Regions from separate parts of the Homo sapiens genome. Here all the other regions are linked to region 3. The links are contacts of gene promoters, found by promoter capture Hi-C in human tissues and cell types (Jung and others, 2019). All regions are on one chromosome and are shown on one strand. Each heading gives the region's core, a stretch centred on a gene start or on the middle of the fragment in contact. The rest is flanking DNA. Distances are from core to core; before and after follow the strand shown. Region 1 overlaps SCARB2 (scavenger receptor class B member 2). Region 2 overlaps SHROOM3 (shroom family member 3). Region 3 holds the start of SHROOM3 (shroom family member 3).

Region 1 (4,135 bases), core at 183-2,682, 260 kb after region 3:
GGATTGGAGTTCAACAAAGAATATGTAGCTGGGCGTAGTGGCGCACACCTACAGTCCCAGCTACTAAGGATGCTGAGGTGGGATGATCACTTGAGCCCAGGAGTTCTCAAGTCCATCCTGGGCAACATGGCGAGACCACTGTCTCTAAAAAACAAAACAAACAAAAAAGAATATATTGTCAGCCCAATAGAAAGATCAGTTTCTTTCAAGAACAATGTTTCATAACATGGCTATTGAATGGTAAAAAAAAATCATGGCTTTTCTGTGATGCTTTTTATTTCTAGAATGCCATGTTGTGTTTTTTTTTCTGGACAGTGGTTTAGAAGTCTTAACAGTAATAATAGCTCATGTTTACTAAGCACCTGATGTATGCCAGTCACTGTCCTAAGTGCTTTACATATTTACATGTAGTTAATGCATGCAAAACATTAACTGATTTCATGTTCAAAACAATGCTAAGGCTGGGCACGGTGGCTCATGCTTGTATTCCCAGCACTTTGAGAGGCCGAGATGTGAGGATTGCTTGAGGCCAGGGGTTCAAGATCAGCCTGGGCAACATAGCAAGACCCTGTCTCTACAAAAAAAAAAAAATTAAAAAATTAGCTGGGTGTGGCGGCACACACCTGTAGTTACAGCTGCTCAGGAGGCTGAGGCAGAGAGATTGCTTGAACCCAGGAGTTCGAGGTTGCACTGTGCTATGATTGTGCTGCTGCACTCCAGCCTGGGCAATAGAGTGATTCCGCACCTCCCCACCAAAAAAAAAAAAAAGCTAAAAGAAAAAGTGGACAACTCAGTTTTAAGAAAGTACGTATCATGGCAAAGATTCTCAGTGATTTTGAAGCAGAGTTAGTTTTAAACCCTGACACAAATGTCCCAGTGTTTCTTAATGTCAGAGCTACTCTGCTCCTTTCCATGAATGAGGCAGAATTATCAGTGGCACAACTGACAAAACTATTTTCTTCATCTTGAAGAGTAGTTTTAACAGCCACATGTTGCAGAATTATTCACAATGAACTTACTAGATAGTAGACATTCAGCGGCCTGTTTTTATAATTGGGGAAACTAGGGCTCAGAGAGGGAACGTGATTTTGATGCGACTCCTCCCTCTGAGCAGATCCCTGGCGGAACTCAGGGTCTTCTCATATTTGCCCTGTGATTCCCTCTTGGGCTGTAATTCCTCTTTAAAATTTCTCTGGAGAGCTCTCTGTGTAGTCCCTTTCTCCTGAATAGTAATGTGCTCACTTTTGCTCCCTTATCTATCTCATTTTAAAATCTCCTTTCAGGCCTGGCATGGTGGCGTGTGCCTGTAGACCCAGCTACTCAGGAGGCTATGGTGGAAGGGTCGTTTGAGCCCAGTTTGATTCTAGCCTGGGCAACATAGCGAGACTCCATCTTTTAAAAAAGAAAAAAAAAAAAAGAATAAGATATCATTTTGGAATAAGTCTGAAGTCAGCAGTATACCTCCTGATCCTTGTCTGACAGGGCAGTGACCCCCACACCTGGCTTTACATCAGAATTATCTGGAGAGTTATTAAAAATATATTGGTGAGGCATGGTGGATCATGCCTGTAATCCTAACACTTTAGGAGGCTGAAGCAGGAGGCTCACTTGAGGCCAAGAATTTAGACCTGCATGGGCAACAGGGAGACCCCATCTGAACAAAAAATTTAAAAATTAGCTGGGCATAGTAGCATACACCTATAGTTCCAGATACCCAGGAGGCTGAGGCTGGAGCGTAGGAATTCAAGGCTGCAGTGAGCTATGATTGCAACACTGCACTCCAGCCTGGGCAACAGAGTGAGACCTGGTCTCAAAAAACAAAAAAATTATATATATATAAAAAATTGTTTATATATACGTATATCATATATATGTGTATATATACATATATATATACAACTGACAAAAGTATTTTTCATCTTGAAGACTAGTTTTAACAGCCACATGTATATATTTATGTATGTATATGTTAATATATTTGTTAATATATGAGTATATTAACAAATTTTATAGTTATATATAAATATGCATATATTTGCATATACTTATATTTGCTATATTTTAATATATATGTATATAGTATATATATATAGGTATACACACACACGTGCGCAAGTGTGCACACACACTCATGGTGCACACACATGCATGTATGTCCCAGGGTCCCATGTTGGATATACCAGGGCCCCAGAATCTACACTTTTAACAAGTACTCCAGCTGATTTCCATAAAGATGGCGTCTAGGTATTTGGGGACCATTGTGCAAGGGAACATGGTACCCTTTACCTGGAGATAAAGACCAAGGGTGAATGGGAACAAGTTCCTGGTTGTGATCTCCCCCATTGCCTTACTGGTAATAGTCCTGAAACAGTGTCCCTGCCCCCTCATCTGGTGTGCATCTGGCTCAAAGCAAAAATGTAGATATATTTTCTCTTGCTGTTTTTATTAAATTCTGTTTCCTTAAGAAGCTGATGCCAGAATCAACAGAAGTATTCTACTTTACACATTTAAACTTCTTGCTACAATCCTTTTCCTCTTCCCTCTTAACGTATTCCCGAATTTGGACTGAAGTGAAACTCCCCAGGATTATCCTCCAGTGTTTTGAATTCTCCAGGGAAACATTTTGGATAGCAGGATGAGTGTTCTGGAGTCAGGCAGATTGGGTTTGAGTCCTATTCTATTTGTTGGTAAATTGGCCAAAGTTTATTAAGGAGGGTTCCAGACATCAGTTTTCTCATTAATAAAATGGAGGTGGTTATAGCTTCTTGAGGTTGTGTGAGAGTTAGAAATAATATATATAAAACACTCAGGACAGTAGCCCCTATTAAGCCCTCAACAGATTTAAAAAATACATTTTCAAGGTCATTATAGGTCACAAAGAAGGAAGTCATGCCTTTGTGGAACTATTCAGCAGTAAACAGCAAAATGCATGTGCATGTGAGAGATGAGGGATGAGTTCCTTAAGCCATGGGCTGGTGAATATGTAAGCAAATTTAAATAACTTGCCGACAAGCTCCTTTCTCCAAAAATGTATTTCCCTGGCAGCAATTGTTGGGTCCCTCTCTTCTTTTCAATAGCCAGATCTAGAATAGGTTTCCTTTAGTAACTTGTTTCCCTATTTGGTTATATATATATATATATATATATATATTTAAATTTACATAAGCACTTATTTGGTTCTTAAAATGAATAGGAAAGGAAAAACCCCAGAATCTTTGTGATCTGGTTAGAGGCTGGGTGTATAGCACAACCAGGCTAACTCTTAAAAAATTATGTAGGCCAGGTGTGGTGGCTCAAGCCTGTAATCTCAGCACTTTGGGAGGCTGAGGCGGGCAGATCACTTGAGGTAAGGAGTTCAAGACCAGCCTTGCCAACATGGTGAAACGCTGTCTCTACTAAAAATACAAAAAAATTATCCGGGTGTGGTGGTGCATGCCTGTAGTCCCAGCTACTTGGGAGGCTGAGGCAGGAGAATTGCTTGAACCTGGGAGGCGGAGGCTGCAGTGAGCTGAGATTATGCCTGTCTTTGGTAAAAACAAAACAAAACAAAACAAAAAACCACCAAAAATTTTTTTTTAATTTTAAAAAGGACAAGAAATAAAAAGTCAGTCCACTTACTGATAGAGAATTGTAGTTGAAACTAGTGCTTTGAGGTACAACACCCTTCATTCACTTAGTATTCTGCCTTCATAGCCTGATGGCTAGCTGTCCCTGGGTAAATTTTGTAACTTCTATGAACCTCACTTTCTTCAAATGCAAAGTGAGGCTAATAGTTCTGACTTTACTGGGCTGTTGGGAGCATTAAATAAAATAATGTGTATGAAGCACTTATACTTTAACTTCAGTAAATATTTGTTGAAGAATAAATAATTTAGCCTGAACTTCAATATATAATGTGGAATAAAAAATTGGGGGTAAATGAGATGTCAGAAAATGAAGTATAAATCCTGAACTAGGAGGTAAAGGATGGTGTTTTAGCCTACCCAAGTTAATTTATATGTAGCTTTTTTGTTTTTCTTTAGGAACCAGGCTGTGGCCAGGAACTTTTATATTCAGCTCAGCTTAGATTTTAAAAACAGCATCATTCATTTCTGTTTTCCTTCAAATGCAGGTGCACCCATCATTATGTCTTTCC
Region 2 (4,093 bases), core at 128-2,627, 340 kb before region 3:
TGTCATATTCTAAGAGTTTCTTATGCTTTTCTATGATATTGTAGCATATGTTATCTTTAATGTGGTTTTCTCTCCAACATGATCATTTTTAAATTAAAAAAATTATATTTAACCATTCAGACATTTTAGGCAAAGTAACTGAGGAGACAAACCCACAGCCAACATTATACTGAACAAGGAAAAGTTGAAAGCATTCCCCCTGAGAACTGGAACAAGACAAGGGTGCTCACTTTCACCACTGCTATTCAACATTGTACTAAAAGGTCTAGCCAGAGCAGTCAGACAAGAGAAAGAAAGAAAGGGCATCCAAATTGGTAAAGAGGAAGCCAAACTGTTGCTGTTTGCCAACGATATGATCCTATACCTAGAAAACCCTGAAGACTATCCAAAAAGCTCCTAGATCTAATAAATGAATTCAGTAAAGTCTCAGGATACAAAATCAATGTACACAAATAAGTAGCACTGCTATACACCAACAGCGACCAAGCTGAGAATAAAATCAAGAACTCAACCACTTTCACAATAGCTGCAAAAAAATAAAATACTTAGGAATATACCTAATCAAGGAGGTTAAAGACCTCTGCAAGGAAAACTATAAAACACTGCTGAAAGAAATCATAGATGACACACACAAATGGAAACATATCCTGTGCTCATGGATGGGTAGAGTCAATATTGTGAAAATGACCATACTGTCAAAAGCAGTCTACAAATTCAATGCAATTCCCATCAAAATACCGCCATCATTCTTCACAGAACTAGAAAAAACAATCCTAAAATTCATATGGAACCAAAAAAGAGCCCGCATAGCCAAAGCAAGACTAAGCAAAAAGAACAAATCTGGAGGCATCACGTTACCCAACTTCAAACTATACTACAAGGCCACAGTCACCAAAACAGCATGGTATTAGTGTAAAAACAGGCATATAGAGCAATGGAACAGAATAGAGAACCCAGAAATAAAGCCAAATACTTACAGCCAACTGATCTTCGAGAAAGCAAACAAAAACAAAGTGAAGAAAGGTCACCCTATTCAACAAATGGTGCTGGAATAATTGGTAAGCCACATGTAGAAGAATGAAAGTAGATCCTCATCTCTCACCTTACACAAAAATCTATTCAAGATGGATCAAGGACTTAAATCTAAGACCTAAAGCCATAAAAATTCTAGAAGATATATTTAACTGAAGGAAGGAAGTACATGTCTTAGTGGCTTCTAGTTTGAATTCATTTATATTAAGCGTCTACTGCTTCTTTTGCACAACAGAAATTAAACTCCACGGTTTTTGTAATTAGTCTTTCATTTTTCTCTTAGCCTAAAATAGCTAGATGGAAAGAAGACAATCTTCTAGGCATTGGCTTCGGCAAAGAGTTCATGACAAAGAATCCAAAAGGGAATGCAACAAAAACAAAGATAAATAGATAGGACTTAATTAAACTAAAGAGCTTTTGCACAGCAAAATAAAAACAGCAGAGTAAACAGACAACCCACAGAGTGGGAGAAAATCTTTGCAAACTATGTATCCAACAAAGAACTAATATCCAGAATCTACAAATAAATCAGCAAGAAAAAATCCCATCAAAAAGTGGGCAAAGGACATTAATAGACAATTCTCAAAAGAAGATGGACAAATGGTCAACAAACGTGAAAAACTGCTGAACAGTTCTATCAGGGAAATGCAAATCAAAACCACAATGCAATACCACCTTACTCCTGCAAGAATGGCCATAATCAAAAACTAATATATGTTGGCATGGATATGGTGAAAAGGGAACACTTTTACATTGCTGGTGGGGATGTAAACTAGCACAACCACTATGGAAAACAGTATGGAGATTCCTTAAAGAATGAAAAGTACATCTATCATTTGATCCTGCAATCCCACTACTGGGTATCTATCCAGAGAAAAGAAGTAATTATATGGAAAAGAAACTTGCACACCCATGTTTATAGCAGCACAATTTGCAACTGCAAAAAAGGGAACCAGCCCAAATGCCCATCAATTAACAAGTGGATAAAGAAAATGTGGTATGTGTGTATATATGTATGTGTGTGTGTGTGTGTATATATATAGTATGTGTGTATATATATGTGTATATATGTGTATGTACACATATATATGGTGTGTGTATATATATAGTATGTGTATATATGTGTATATACACATATACAAATATGTTATGTATATATACACACACACACATTTTCTTTATTCACTTGTTAATTGATGGGCATTTGGGCTGGTTCCCTTTTTTGCAGTTGCAAATTGTACTGCTATAAATATGAGTGTGCAAGTGTCTTTTCCATATAATTACTTCTTTCCTCTGGATAGATACCCAGTAGTGGGACTGCTGGATCAAATGATAGATGTACTTTTAGTTCTTTAAGGAATCTCCATACTGTTTTCCATAGTGGTTGTACTAGTTTACATTCCCACCAGCAGTGTAAAAGTGTTCCCTTTTCACCACATCCATGCCAACATGTATTTTTTTTTATTGCCATTCTTGCAGGAGTAAGGTGGTATCACATTGTGGTTTACACACACACACACACACACACCCCATGGACTACTACTCAGCCATAAAAAAGAACAAAATAATGGCATTTACAGCAACCTGGATGGAGTTGGAGACCATTATTCTAAGTGAAGTGACTCAGGAATGGAAAACCAAACGTTTTATGTTCTCAGTTTTAAGTGGATGCTAAGCTATTGAGGATGCAAAGGCATAAGAAGGATACAAAGGACTTCGGGGACTCAGCGGGAAGGGTGGGAGGTGGGTGAGGGATAAAAGACTACACATCGGGTACAGTGTACAGTGCTCGGGTGATGGAGGCACCAAAATCACAGAAATCGCCACTAAGAATTTATCAATGTAACAAAACACCACCTGTTCCCCAAAAACCTATTGAAATAAAAAAAAAGTGATTGTGGAAAATTAAAATGAAAATCAATCAAGAAATAAGATCACTTAAGTATACCTCAATACAAAATAGCTTATGTAGGGTTATCAAAGACTCATGTGTCTTTGCCCTAAATCCCCCTAAACTAGCCTGTCACATCTTACATAATAATGCCTGGGGGAAAAGTGAAGAATTACAGGCTTATTGGCATAAGTTTCCTTTCCCTAAGCAGAAAAACATACCTTAAAAAAAAAAAAAACAAAAAAAAAACCCCAAAAAACCCTGAGGGACTGAATTTGAATGAGGATGCCTTTCAAAGTATCATTGAGATGTAAGTTAAAAAATTGAGAATTTTTTCATCACCTACCTTAAAAAATATATAAAATATTTTAGACATCAGTAATGTATAAAGAATCACTCTGTGTACCTATCATTAATGGTGCCAAATCTTAATATGAACACTTTTTTCATATTGGCTGCAGATTAAAAAAATTTTTTTTAGAGATTCAGTTAAAGCCTTATAGATACTCCTCCCCAATCCTGGTCTTCACTACTCCCCATTTGGTAACTATTTTTCTTCCTTTTCTCATTTCTACTTATAGTTTTAGTTTCTTAACAAAGACCAATCATGATAAAAAAACAATACTGCTATAGTATTTTTTGGGTGAGCAAACTTACTTGTATTTAAGAGTGCAGGCATGCATGTAAGTGTTGAATTTAATTCGGTTCTAAAACAATTTATCTTGCCCTAACTAGAAACTGCTCCAGTCTTTCTTGTCTCAGATATCTAGAGCATTCATCCAGGTGGCCCAATAGGAAACTTGGAATTATTTTCTGCTCTACCCTTCCCCTCATCTAACATGCCCCTTGCTAATACAAATTCATTCTCTAATTTATCCCCTCTTCTCTACCCCCAGGACAATTGCCTACATCAACAGCATAAACCCTCCTTGTTTAGACTATTAAAATGAGCCTCCCAACTGTTATTTTAACATCAATCTTGCCCCTCCCCAGGCTGAGTAAGTCACAAAGTTAGTTCATGACTCTTCCCTACCTATAGGCTGAAGTCTAAAGTCTAGTGTATGACTGTGGTAAGGTCTTTGTGATGATTTTCTGTGCTGGATATTGTGTCTGCCTCTCCAGGTCCACTCTTCTCTGCCCTGTGCTGAAGGAAGCTGAACTCTAGGGGTT
Region 3 (4,537 bases), core at 1,966-4,465:
TTAATTGAAATAGAAATAGTCACATGTGACTGTGGGCCACCATATTGGACAGAGCACATTGGACCAGATTGGATCCTTGAAAGAAAGGAGATTGCCTTCTCTTTTCCCTCTTCCCTGCTTCTTACTGACTGGAAAGCAGATGTGGTGGCAAGTCACTTGGACCATGAAGATGAGATATCACTCCAGGATGGAAGTAAGAAAATAGAAGGAACTTGGGTCCCTGACATCATAGAGCCATCTTTTGGTTTGGCTTATGCTCAGACTGTTATGTCAGAGAAATAAATTCCTATATTATTGTTATTTTGGATCTTTTTACAGCAGCCAGACCTGTCTCCTACTACACATGTCTGCTAGAATAATGAAAAGCAATAATCATAATCTTTGCTCCTTCTGTGTACTAGACACTAACCTAAATGCATGGTTGCATTTAAACACAACCCATTAAAGTAGATAGTAGGATAGCCCCATTCTGCAGGTAAAATGGAGGCTTAGAGAAGCTGGCTCATTAGTGGGAGGATTAGACCTTTCTGTCAGCAAACTGTCAGATACTGTAGTGTATAGATACAGAATATTTTATCATTAAGGGACAGGCAAATTGTGTACAACTAGACTTTTTAAATGCCGAGACAATATTTATGTTCATTGCAGAATTATCTGTTATTCAGCAACCATGCCCTCTTTCTTCCTGCAAAAAGAACCTCAAATCATTCAAACAGTGGGCAATGATTCCTTGACTTCAGGAAGAGTAGGTCCTTATTGTAGAAACCTGTGAAAGAAATCCTAATCAGTCTGTATTAATCACTGGCATTTCTTACCAGTGATTGGCCTAAAGACAGGCACAGGGTACAGTTCTGGTTAATGAGATGAAAGCAAAGGTCTAATGAGAAACAAAAAGCCAAAAACCTGTCTGGAATGAAGATGCAATCAATGCTGGAGTTGTGGGATCCATCATGCAACCATGAAGACAAAGCCAACATCATAAGAATGGCAGAGTGGAGAGATAAGTGGGGTCCTTGATCACATTATTGAGCTGCTGCTCCCCTTGCCTGGAAAATCTACCTCCAAACTTCTTGTAATATGAGAAAAACAAACCCCAATTTACTGAGAGCCACTATAAACTCGGTTTTGAATTTTTTTCACAGGGGGAAGCCTTCCTAACTGACACACACATATGCACATCCTTTTGTTTTACTTAAGAAAGTTAAGGAAAAGTCATACAACTTATAATGGTGTCCCGTGCACTCGTGGCTTATCACTGTGAAACCCAGTTCTCCCTGGCTCATCCACAGTAAGAATTACTTCAGTAATTTGAAAAATAACCTTTTGGAATTATTTCTGGGGATATGAAAAGTAACCTGAACCAATAACAGAGCTCAAATGCAATCCATATTACCTTCTTCCCACCCTCAAATTAAAAATTTTTTCTCCCTTAATTACAAATGTTTCTTGATGAATGCACATGTGTGAAAAGCCATTATAATCTATTGTATCAGACTATTAAATACTCTAAAAATTTAAAAGCAATATTATAACAAGTAATGTTAATCTGTAGTTTAAGAGAAAAATAGAAATATTAACCCCAGTACATAAATATTTCATTGGTATGACTACCCACACCAAAAGATAAATGAAGAATTGAGGTATGCTGCAGGATGACTAAGGTTTAAAAAGGGATTCAAATATACAGATAAATAGGAGAGGCAGAAATGTTTTGATCTTGAGTTATGCTGAAAGCTGATTTAATTCTCCTTTCTGAGTGTGGGGAAAAAAAGCAACACATGGTATTTATGCAATCTATTATCCAGAATTATAAGCAAACTTAAAATATTTTTAGATGCTATTTTCAGTTGAAGAGAGAAAAAGCAGATATTTTTGAATGCACAAATATATACCATGCCACCATCTTAACCATGTTATTAATCTTTAATCTGATTTATAACTGAAAAGCTCATGTGGTAACTGATTGTATGCGATTTCATTCACAAAAAGAGAAGATTATCCATCAAACAGGCATATTTTTCTTCGGATTTCATAGAATAAATGAGCTAGACACATTTTTCTTTCAAATCCCAGGCTATCCAAAATATTTCTAGATAATCAGAAAGGCATGAAACAGCAAATTAAGTTATATTAAGGCAGTTCTCATTATTTTGCATTTTTGACAAATCTGACAAGTTGAAAAAAACAATTTGAATAAAGGCAATATTGGAAAAAGAAACATACCTTAGAGATGATTAATGGTTCTCCGTGCTCCAGGCCACCCTTTAGAGTAAAACCCCAGGGAGCTCCTCCCTCCAGGAATGCCTCCAGATAAATGTACCTTCCCTTGGTGGCCGTGTTAGAGTTTAATGTGGCACTAGGCTTGTGGAAGTCTTCAGTGGTCCTCATCATGCCAAACACATGATCCCTCAAGTTAAATTTAAAATGCCTGAAGCAAACTCAGGCAAGCAGTGCTTCTACAGCACAAGTTGTCCCATCCTTCAGGACACACAATGGCCAAAAGAGAGGTTTGGAGAAGCAAATTCTTCCATACGTAAAATGTTCTTCCAAGCTGAACTCCAAGATGCTGAACCAGAAGGAATTTTCACTTCAACATTTCTGAATGTAAATCCTCCTCCAGGAATTCTGGGTTCTCACTGAAGCCCCCAAGTGGTATACATCTCTACTCCGTTCGTCAAAACTTCCTTCAGTGGCGCTCTGAAGATTGCTTTTCTGAGCTTTTATTTCACACATACACACACTAAAACCATTTCTGCCTATTTTACAGAGAAAATTAAAAGCATCTTACAATATAGTAAGAAAATCACAAATACTCAAAGGAATACCTCATTTTTGATTGATTATCAACCCTTTCTTCCTCTCGGAGTGAAATTTACCATTACAATAGCCTCCTCCCTCCCCAGAAGTAGCTTAAAAAGAAAGAAAGCACTTACTATGCTTCGGCTCACTTCAGAATTTTCTAACTTGTCCCGAAGAGACAGAGAAGCTGTGCTAAAACTTTTTACTTCTTTTTTTCAACAATCAGTTCATAGTTTGTTTCTTAGGAGAGAAAAAAACTTTTGCAGGATGTAGAGAAAATGAAAAAGCACGGTAAATTAATCCTCAATGGAAAAAATATGAAGGAGGCAGCTCAGTTCTTTTCTTTGGTATTTTCAGTGATGATCAGCCACTGCTGCGGCCGCCACAGCCACTTGCCTCCTCTTGAGAGAAAGAGTAAGGAAGTTAGAGGAACATGGATTAAGGCAAAGTGAGGCATTGCAACCTTTCTGCACAGTAAGCACTGCCATGCAGAATTCAGCTCACCACAAAGACCTGACAATTCAAACAGTCTTACAGTTAATAACACGTAGGAAGTTAAAAATACTATACAGATGGCTAATTGCCAAGGGATAGAAAATAGTTCCTAGAATAGCCCCGCCTCGTACCAATTAAAGGAGAATTTCAGGGAGTGAGACATAGGCATTTGTGTTTTTAAAAACCCTCCAGGCAATTCTGCTATGCAGCCAAGTTTGAGAAGCAATGCCTAAGTGATTTGGGTAAACGTTTAAGTACATGTCAAGGTGGTGGCACAAGGGCTTTTTTTTTTTCGTTAGAAGAAAATACTACCAGTGTAATATATGAAATGGGACTTTCCAATCAAAGTTCTGCTTGTTTGACTCAATAAAAACAGGAGGTGGGTTTTTTTTTCTAGGTTTTCATTGTTATCTACTCCAAGATTGTTATCCACTCTTTAAATGAAAAGAAATCTACAATGCCTTGTGGGTAAGTACTAGGTACTCGGGAAAGAATGTTGTTCTGATTTCATGTTACCAGTGTCATTTTGTAATAATGTTATATACAAATTTAACATTCATGCTTTGTATTAAAAATTTGAACAGTAGAAGATAACCATATCTAACCCAGAAGCCTCAGCTATTTAGTTATTGGAACAGATTAGAATTACTTCCAGGTAATATATGTACTAAAACTTTTTTCTGTTTAAAAGTATGGGATAATGAGAATTAAGTTGAAAACTGAAGTTAAAAACTACTGTGGGGCTTGATAACAATTATTTTGGTGTTTGTACTTATAATTAATGAAAGGCTGATATGGAAAGGCAGGTATATGATATCAAACTACACGATATTTAATTTACAACACTGGACAGGTATTGTTTGATTTTCAATGGTAACTTCACTTGAAGGGCTCAAAGACAAAAAAAAAAAAAAAAAAGTAAAACCTTATGTAATGGTAGTATGTGAATGGAAACATAAGGAAACCTAAGGTGTACCAAATGAAAGTATGTGGTAAAAATTGGCTGATTCTTAAGGGTAATTTACGCAATTTCTATTGTGGTTTTCTTTTACAGCTTAATTTGTAAGTTAGAATAAATGGAGAAACATTAGCTTTTCTTTCATTTCAAAGAACATATGTATTTTAAATAAAAGTCCTAGGTAAATGAACAGCTTTCTTTCTGAAAAAATTAATTTATGAGGCTCTTATTATGTTACTCCTAATACATTTTGTAAAAACTGGGATTTTACAGAATCCACATTTA

Evidence for each region. Contacts are between HindIII fragments. The study calls those that stand out against the background at their distance.
Region 1: a fragment that was not itself captured here is called in contact with the fragment with the promoter of SHROOM3 in region 3 in 1 of the 25 tissues and cell types used here (thymus).
Region 2: a fragment that was not itself captured here is called in contact with the fragment with the promoter of SHROOM3 in region 3 in 1 of the 25 tissues and cell types used here (mesendoderm cells).

Annotation. Positions count from the first base shown.
Region 1 is chr4:76,169,962-76,174,096 of GRCh38, reverse strand. It overlaps SCARB2 (scavenger receptor class B member 2), which reads left to right. Exons shown (of 12, transcript NM_005506.4): 8 at 4,112-4,135. Among named protein-coding and RNA genes, the nearest start is that of NUP54, 24 kb to the right of the region's middle. The HindIII fragment of the contact is 8,018 bases long and covers 1-4,135 here.
Region 2 is chr4:76,773,789-76,777,881 of GRCh38, reverse strand. The region is part of intron 10 of SHROOM3 (shroom family member 3); the gene reads right to left. The region is part of intron 1 of SHROOM3-AS1 (SHROOM3 antisense RNA 1); the gene reads left to right. Among named protein-coding and RNA genes, the nearest start is that of SHROOM3-AS1, 27 kb to the left of the region's middle. The HindIII fragment of the contact is 8,803 bases long and covers 1-4,093 here.
Region 3 is chr4:76,433,907-76,438,443 of GRCh38, reverse strand. It overlaps SHROOM3 (shroom family member 3), which reads right to left and starts at 3,215. Exons shown (of 11, transcript NM_020859.4): 1 at 2,224-3,215. The coding sequence starts at 2,391. The HindIII fragment of the contact is 12,167 bases long and covers 1-4,537 here.